3 separate regions of the Homo sapiens genome follow, and regions 1 and 2 are each linked to region 3. Evidence: promoter capture Hi-C in human tissues and cell types (Jung and others, 2019). All regions are on one chromosome and are shown on one strand. The core of a region is centred on a gene start or on the middle of the fragment in contact, and the rest is flanking DNA. Distances in the headings are between cores, read along the strand shown.

Region 1 (2,819 bases), core at 86-2,585, 350 kb after region 3:
CCCTTCTGCAGTTATCCTGAGAAATGGGCCTCAAGTCCCTCCTCACTGTTCCTCACGGGGAGCTCCCCATCTCCGGGGAAGCCCACTCGTGTCTGGAAGGTTCTGCTAATTGATCCCTGACTCCCTCTTTCCTTCGCCCTGCCCTCTGGGGCAGAGAAACCCAGCCTGCTCTCAGCAAGACAGGAGGAGTGGCCCACCTCCCCCTCCCCTACCCCAAGGCTCCTCCAGCCTCAGTTGTCCCAGGCGAGGCCCGTGACTGGGAAACAGAAGATCTGGGTTCATGTCCAGCTCCACCCCTTAGCAGCTGCGGAATCTGGGGCAGGTTTTTCACCTCTCTGAGCCTTTACCCCCTGCCCCGTAAGGGTGGGCGTTTGCCTCTGTTTCTTTTTTTTTTTTTTTTGAGATGGAGTCTCGCTCTGTTGCCCAAGCTGGAGAGCAGTGGCGCGATCTCAGCTTACTGCAACCTCCGCCTCCCAGTTCAAGCAATTCTCTGGCCTCAGCCTCCCAAGTAGCTAGGACTACAGGTGCGCACCACCATGCTCGGTTAATTTTTGTATTTTTAGTAGAGATGGGGTTTCACTATGTTGGCCAGGCTGGTCTCGAACTCCTGACCCTCATGTGATCCATCCACCTCAGCCTCCCAAAGTGGTGGGATTATAGGTATGAGCCACCGTGCCTGGCCCTTTGCATCTGTTTCTGAGGGTGACTGGGAAGATCCTGTGAGCCTGTGAGTGAATGAATGTATCATAGCTCGTTGATATGAACTACTTTGTGACCCAACCACTCAAGGGCACTGCTGGGCCTGATTTCCAGACCCCCATCACCAGCCACTGCCTTGGGGTACCACTTCTCTGGACAGCTGAGCCTCCCCCGGCCCTCCCTCACCCAGGCCCCCAGAACTGCTTTGGTGGGCAAGGCTGGCTGAGTGCCAGCCCCGCCATGAGGCTTCAGATCCTGAGCCCACCTGACCTTGGAAAGGGCCTCTCTCTGGCTGGGCTCCAAGGCTGCCCCCAACAGACACCCGGCAGTGGCTGGGCAGCAGAGAGAGAGAACTGGGTGGGGCAGAGAGAGGACCACTTGCCAGAGCTGTCCCGGCTCCCTGAGACAACAGGCTAGAGGACAGAGGAGAATGGCCAGCCAGCCACGGGCGGGGCCCCACTTAGCAGCTACATCAGCAGCCCGGCAGAGCTTACTCCTCACAGTCAAGTGGGCTGCCTGAGAAGTGGGTGAGCGCCCTGTCCTGGGAGATGTGTAAGCAACTGCTGAATGGCATCTGTTATCAGGGCAGGAGGGGGCTCTATTAAAAGACCCGGGGAAAAAATTGGAACCAGACCCCAAAGAGTCCCTGTTATTTGGGCTGCAGAGTGGCGGTCCTGTGAGCTGGGGGGTCTAACAGACTTTTCCCAGTATTCCCCCATAACATCCAACAATTCCCCACATGGTTGTGTGTCACAAAGCCCGGAGTCCAAGCACCGCCCGTCACAGCTTCAAGACACACGCCGGATCCCATTTCACCGCTCCTAACCCCCACTCAGGCCAGTGCTTTAAAATTGCACACAGGTCCTGCCCCGTTAGTGGGTTGGGAAATTGACTTAGTGAGTTGCACTACTTGTTTTCCGAAAATGAAATTAAAAAGAAAATTTCAAAATACTATGCATGTAGTGAGGGTAAATATTATTTTGTGACGCTCTTACTTCAGCTTTAAATATATAGCCGGGTGCAGTGGCTCACGCCTGTAATCCCAGCACGTTGGGAGGCCGAGGCGGGAGGATGGCAAGAACCCAGGAGGTTGCAATTGAGCTGTGATCGCATCACTGCACTCCAGCCTGGGCATTGGAGCAAGACTCTGTCTCTAAAAAATAAATATAAAGTAAGTTAAAATAACAAACAGGATGTTTGCTTTTACTACGGATTTTGGTCAAAAAACTTGAAAGCTACTGTCCTGTGTAGAAATCCAGGAGGCGCCCTGATAGAGGTTCTGATGCTCAGGTTCCGATTTCCCTGGATGTTTGGTTCCTAAAGACATAGGTGCCACAACTTCCAGGATGCTGCTGTCCTGCCCTCAGAAGTAGCCGCCTGTCCCTTGCTCAGTGGACCACCCAGGTCCAGGCACCCATGCTCCTCCAGAGCCACCACCTCTCCCCAGGGCCTAGATCCCAGGCCGGGCCAAATTCCCTGCTTTCCGCTCAGCCCAGGCCCAGCCCTGCTCTGTCCTTGTGCCCTCCTGCTTGCCCTCATCTTCCTAGGACCTTCTCTTTATGCCCTTTCACACACACACACGCACACACACGCATGCACGCACACATGCGTGCACGGAGCTCAGCAAAGCCGGTTTGTGACTTACCTGCTTCCCTTCAGCATACAGTAGGTGCTCAATAAATGTTCACTCAATTATTTACAGACCGCCCTCCAAGGCAAGGCACTGCGCTGTGTTGAGACACATCTGGCACCTGGCAGGAAGGCAGATGCTGTTCCAGCTCAGGGGACATTTAGGGTGATGAATGAATGGATGGATGGATGGGGGTCGGCTGGAGTTGGAGATTCTCTGGCCTGAGGAGCCAGTGGGAAGGTGGTCAGCAGTAAAGAGGGGCATGCAGCCCGTGGCCCCCCCCATGGCAGGCGTTCTGTCAGTGACAGTCCCTTGGGGCTGTGGCCCAGCATTGAGTCATGGGCAGGGGCTGACTGTTCCTCCTGCTGTCTCTGGTCCTTCTGAGGCCTGTCTCCCATGCCCTCTCCCACTAGGTCCTGTACACATGTCCCTGCCACCCATCCCTGGGTGAGGCCAGGACATCCTCCCCCGAGCCCCTGACACCTGGGGG
Region 2 (2,914 bases), core at 324-2,823, 340 kb before region 3:
AGCTGGTGGACAAGGGCCCCTTGGTGCCCACCCTGCCCTTCCCGCTCCGCAAGCCCCGAAAGGCCCACAAGTACCTGCGGCTCTCGCGCAAGAAGTTCCCGCCCCGCGGGCCCAACCTGGAGAGCCACAGCCATCGACGGGAGCTCTTCCTGCAGGAGCCACCGGCCCCAGACGTCCTGCAGGCGGCTGGCGAGTGGGAGCCTGCTGCGCAGCCCCCTGAAGAGGAGGGTAAGGCGGCCCCAGCCCAGAGACCCTCAGAGCTGGAAAGGGCCCTATGGGTCATAAGGTCCAGCTGGTTCAATGTCCAAAGAGGGCCTGTAGTGCTTTGTGGGGCCAGTCGGGTCTGGGCTCAGGGCCCAACACTAGCCCAGGGCTCCTCCTGTCGTCCCGCTCTGGCTGAGCTCTTGTCTAGGTGGGGAGGATGCACCCAGTGCCCTCCTCCCAAGTGTCCAGCCCTGTGTGAGGCCCTGAGCTGACTGAAGACACAGAGAGGAGGAGCTGGAGTTGGGGTCGGGTTGGGTGGTCTGCATGGCTTCCCACCTTGTCAACGCTGCCCCCATCTGTGTGTCTGACGCTGCAGCAGATGCCGACCTGGCCGAGGGGCCCCCTCCCTGGACACCTGCGCTCCCCTCAAGTGAGGTGACCGTGACCGACATCACCGCCAACTCCATCACCGTCACCTTCCGCGAGGCCCAGGCAGCTGAGGGCTTCTTCCGAGACCGCAGTGGGAAGTTCTGAATCACCGTTTTTACTCTTCTTAAACTGTTTTCTTTTGGGCTTGGGGTGGGACTTCCAGAGATAGGGATGGGTTGGGGGCGGGGTAATTATTTTATTTAAAAAAATACCGAGCAGCAAAAGGGGAGAAGATCCCACTACTCTCCCACCACCTGCCCTTTCTCTGAGGGACGTTTACCACGAGGCCTCAGGCTGGGGATGGAGAGAGTTGCTCTGGGAGTTGGGGTACCACCCCCAGGGCAGGATGGGGACAGGATCACCTGCCCGGGACACCACCATTATCATTCTCCTCTAGTGACGCAGCAGCTGGTTCTGGGAGTTAAAGGAGCATTGGAAGGCCCAAACCCTCTCCCTTGAGTGGCCACCCCAGCCTGGTTGGCTGGTTTTCCCCTTTTCTCTTGTTTCAATTGGGTCTTTACCTTGAACTCTCCTCTCTGGCTTTGCGGTGGGCTGTGGAGGCTGGTTTTGACCAAAAGTGAGTGGGGCGGGAGGAAGGGGCAGGAGGAAGGGTTGAGGTTACTTGGGGCGAGTCCCTTCCCCTTCAGAGAGGCTTCTATCCTTCCCAGGGAGGAGGCGCCGCTGAGACCCTTCTGCTGAGAGCTCTGCCCTCCCCTCATCACCTGGCCTGTGCAGAAACGCTCATGCACACCTGGCTGCACAGGTGTGCACGCATTACCCTTCGCGTGTACGTTCCCATGTGCCCCGTGAAAGCATGTGTGGCTGCAGACGTGTCCACATGGGCCTTGCGAACCTGGGTTAGAAACCCTGGCCAGGCGAACGTGGGGTGATTCACAGCACAAAAGACCTCACCACCACACCTGCACTCACCCCACCTTGCATGCACCTTGCTACCTGCTTGCGGCTTTCAGTGGAGGGCAGGGGTCTGGCACAGGTGCGATGGCACCCCATGCTCCAGGCATACAGATGTGGTTTCTCGGCTGCACCGGGCCAGGCTGCGGGTGTGCAGGCGTCTGCTAAGTTGTGTGATGTATCAGCACAGGCTTTGAGACGTCTGGACCCTGTCCTTCCTCCCGTGAGGGGTTCTTGTTCTTTCTGACTCAGGTGACTTTTCAGCCCTTCCAATTCCCCTCTTTTTCTGCCCTCCCCTCCAACTCAGCCAACCCAGGTGTGGGCAGTCAGGGAGGGAGGGAGTGTCCCACCACGTTCTCAGGGCAGCCCTTGACTCCTAAGCCCCTTCCTCCTTCCATTCTGCATCCCCTCCCCATCCAACCTAAATGCCACAGCTGGGGCTGAGCTGTATTCCTGTGGAGGGACCTCTGCCGTGCCTCTCTGAGGTCAGGCTGTGCTGTGTGATGGGCAGGCTTTGCCCCAGCCCACCCCTGGCAAGGTGCACTTGTTTTCTGGTTTGTACAAGGTGTCCTGGGGGCCCGTGGCTTCCCTGCCAGTGAGGAGTGACTTCTCCCTCTCTTCCAGTCCTGTAGGGGAGACAAAACCAGATTGGGGGGCCCAAGGGGAGCATGGAAAAGGCCGGCTCCCCTGTCTTTCCTTGGCTGTCAGAGTCAGGGTAACACACACCAAGAGTGGAGTGCGGCCAGCAAGTTTGAGACCTGCCCGCCCTCCTCGCAGCTCTGCTCTGTGTCCTCAGGAAGTCACAGAGTCTACTGAGGCAAGGAGAGGGTGATTCTTTCCCCAAATCCCTTCTTCCCTGGTTCCCAAACCAAAGACAGCCTGCAGCCCTTTCTGCATGGGGTGCTCTGTTGACAGGCTTCCCAGATCCCTGAGTCTCTCTTTCCTTCCTCCTCGATCTTTAGTTGTCCACGGTCAATTCAGTGCTTCCATTGGGGGACAGTCCCCTCCGGGATGACCTGATTCACCTCCAGCCCAGGGAATGGAATCTAGAGGAATACGTGGGGTGGGTCTGGACAAGGAGCGGCAGGAATCACCACCCATCTCCAGCTGTGGAGCCCTGTGGAGGGGAAGGGGAAGCTTGGGGTTCAGAGGGGACTCTTCCAGGAGAGGGGTGCCCAGCGGAGGTAAAGATGATAGAGGGTTGTGGGGGGTCTCTAGTTGAATGTTTTGGCCCATGACTTTGGAACATGGCTGGCAGCTTCCAGCAGAAGTCACGCTCCCCATCCCCCAGGGGACATAGGACCTTTTTCCTGCTTCCTGGTCACTTTCAAAGAACTATTTGCGCAATCTGTGGGTCTGTGGATTCACG
Region 3 (2,914 bases), core at 345-2,844:
GTGGGCTGTTGTAGTGGGAAGGGTGAAGGACTCCCCCCTGTTTTCTGATGGAGGCAACTGGGTCGGGGGTGGTGCCATTTACTGGAATGGGGAATGCAGGAAGAGCAGATTGGAGGGAGATGATCAATTCAGTTTGGGACACACTGAGTTTGAAGGGCTTGTGGAACATTCTGGTGCACATGGCTAGGAGGCAGTTGAATATGCTACCCAAGCATTCAGGGATCAGAGGTTTTAAAGATAATTTTGTGGGTAGGGGCTTGGCAAGCGAGGAGTGTTGATTGATTAAGTCGAAGATGGAATACTGAGGGGGTCGAAGTGAGGTTTTCTTGCTGTCTTCTGTTCCTGGGTGGGATCACAGAACTGTTTGAGCCACATTACTGGTCTGGGTGGTGTCAGCTGATCCATCGAGCGCAGGGTCTGCAAAATATCTCAAGCGCTGATCTTAGGTTTTACAATAGTGATGTTATCCCCAGGAGCAATTTGGGAAGGTTCAGACTCTTGCAGCCAGAGGCTGCTGTGTGACCCCTAAACCATAATTTCTAATGTTGTAGCTAATTTGTTAGTCCTACAAAGGCAGACTGGTCCCAAGGCAGGAAGGGAGCCTTTTTGGGAAAGGGCTATTGTCAATTTTGTTTCAGAGTAAAACTATAAACTAAATTCCTTCCCAAGGTTCGTTCAGCCTATGCCTAGGAATGAACAAAGACAGCTTAAAGGCTAGAAAGGCAAGATGGAGTGGGTTAGGTCTGATCTCTTTCACTGTCATAATTTCCTCAGTTATAATTTTGGCAAAGACAGCTTCAATGCTAGTAAATGTGGCAGTGGGGTTTCACCCCAAGTACTCATCACAATAATAAAGGTTTAAACTACGAAGTACCCAACTGACCCTTTGATCTACCAATCAAATAATAGAATCCGCCAGTTCTTCCCCTTTCCCCTTTTCCTTCTCCGTACTTTCGGATTAATTTTCCCTCCCAAGGGGAAGAAAAGGCAGGCTCTGGGCAACTGTGTCTGAAATTAGGTGGTACAAATGTCTCCTAGTGACTAGAGCTAGGTGACCATACAAGGGTGTGGCACAGAGGAAGGAGCCCCTGGGTTCCTTCTCCAGGGAGATTACCTCCATCCTTTACCAAGTTACTTAACCTCTCTGAACTTTAGTTCAGATGGGATGACGAATATTATCACCTAAAAGTACTGTAATGAGAATCAAGTGAGATATTAATTGTACAGCCCTACAAAAATGCTAGTTATTATCAGGCTTTTCAGATCCCAATAAAGTAGTGGCTAAGTGTCACGACACCAACAAGTTGCATTTGTTATTTCAAGTGACTAAAAGAACCTCCCAAGGCAGTACTGCTTTTCGAAGTTTGTTTCCCTAGAAAAAGAACTTCAATGTGTCCCCTGCTCCTCGGGCACGCTTAAGACAACTATAAGTGAAGTCCCGCCTCCCTGGCCTCTAAACCACGCCCCTGTCCTTGCAAACGCCTGACTTATAAGGGCCTTTCACTCTGATTGATACTTTTATCCACCAATAATAAGTGAAATTCTCGTCAACGTCCGGTGAGGGGGCAGGACTTCCTTGCTGGTTGCTAAGACACTCTTGTTTCGCTCCTTGACAACCCTGGCGGGGGTTCGCTGGCTGCGGCCCCGGCTCCGGCCCCCGCAGGAGCAGGTGAGGCCCCGGGGCGCGGCGGGCAGCCAGGCGGGGAGGGCCGGCCCGGAGGGAGGGCGGGAGGCAACGCAGGGCGGAAGAGGCCTCGCCCGCCGCCGAGGCCCCACCTCGGTCTCCTGCCTGCTGTTCCCCTGCCCCAGGTCTTCCCATCCTCAACCCCCACCCTCACCCCCACTTCGGGACCTGCGAGCTCTGTCGTGACAGGTTTGCCATCGCGACTCTGCCGGCTGCTCTTCCCCACCCACCCAAGGCCTGCCCAGCTTCGTGGTCCCGCGTCCCCCTTTAGCCGACTTCCCCCAGCACCTTGATCCCTCGACCTTTCGCGGAGTAATTCCCTCTCCCGCGGGGTCGCCATCAACTAGGTCAGACCGCTCTTGGCTTGGAGAGTTGGCGACTTACTGGGATTCTGGGCTGGTCATTTCCCCTGTTTGGGCCTCAGTTTCCCCATCTGTAAATGAGAAGTTGAGTTGAGTGATCTCTAAGGCCTCTTCCACTCTGACGTTCTAGGATGTCGTTGTTCTTTGACCCAACTTTAGGCTTCCGAGAGGATGTGCTCCCCAATGGGAGGTATCGTGTATTGTGAAAATAACTTGGCAAACCTAATTTGGATTCCCAGTCTCAAGACCTACCCTCCCTGCGCTTTTAATCAGTGCATATGTAAAATCAGTATACGTCGGTGCATCTCCTTTGGTAATTCTGAGGCTAATATGAAGTACAGAGTCCAGTCCAGTATAGATTCAGTATTTGTTAGTTTCTTTCCTTTGTCTCTTCACCACATTTTCCCTCTCTGGGAAATGTTATCAACCCGGTCAGCATGAACTGTCATTTCTCCAGTTGACCCTCTCTGATCTTCCTCCTGGGCTTCCATGGTTAGGGTTACTTAGGGGTGGGGAGGGGACAGATGGAGATTGAAATACAGTCATGTACCATATAACAACGTTTTGGTCAAGAAAGACCACAGATACCACGGTGGTGCCCTAAGGTTATAATGGAGCTGACAAATTTCTATCACCTAGTTACATAGCTATCGTAATGTCAAAGCAAAATGCATGACTCACGTGTGTGGTGATGCTGGTGTAAGCAAACCTACAGTGCTGCCAGTCATATAAAATATAGCACATACAATTGTGTACAGGACATCATACTTGATAATGGTAATAAATGACTGTTACTTGTTTATGTGTTTACTATCCTACACTTTTATTGTTATTTTACAGTGTACACTCCTCCTACTTATAAGAAAAT

What was found. The method cuts DNA at HindIII sites, captures the fragments that hold promoters and counts their contacts. A contact is called where the count stands out against the background at its distance.
Region 1: a fragment that was not itself captured here is called in contact with the fragment with the promoter of DNAL4 in region 3 in 1 of the 25 tissues and cell types used here (spleen).
Region 2: a contact is called between a fragment that was not itself captured here and the fragment with the promoter of DNAL4 in region 3, in 3 of the 25 tissues and cell types used here (dorsolateral prefrontal cortex, heart left ventricle and pancreas).

Annotation. Positions count from the first base shown.
Region 1 is chr22:38,444,536-38,447,354 of GRCh38, reverse strand. All of the region lies in intron 1 of KCNJ4 (potassium inwardly rectifying channel subfamily J member 4), which reads left to right. Among named protein-coding and RNA genes, the nearest start is that of KCNJ4, 9.3 kb to the left of the region's middle. The HindIII fragment of the contact is 6,980 bases long and covers 1-2,819 here.
Region 2 is chr22:39,131,715-39,134,628 of GRCh38, reverse strand. It overlaps CBX7 (chromobox 7), which reads left to right. Exons shown (of 6, transcript NM_175709.5): 5 at 1-228; 6 at 581-2,914. The coding sequence ends at 738. Among named protein-coding and RNA genes, the nearest start is that of CBX7, 20 kb to the left of the region's middle. RefSeq lists enhancers at 1-317, 318-1,002, 2,642-2,914. The HindIII fragment of the contact is 4,160 bases long and covers 1-2,914 here.
Region 3 is chr22:38,792,823-38,795,736 of GRCh38, reverse strand. It overlaps DNAL4 (dynein axonemal light chain 4), which reads left to right and starts at 1,594. Exons shown (of 4, transcript NM_005740.3): 1 at 1,594-1,669. RefSeq lists a silencer at 1,403-1,852. The HindIII fragment of the contact is 13,707 bases long and covers 1-2,914 here.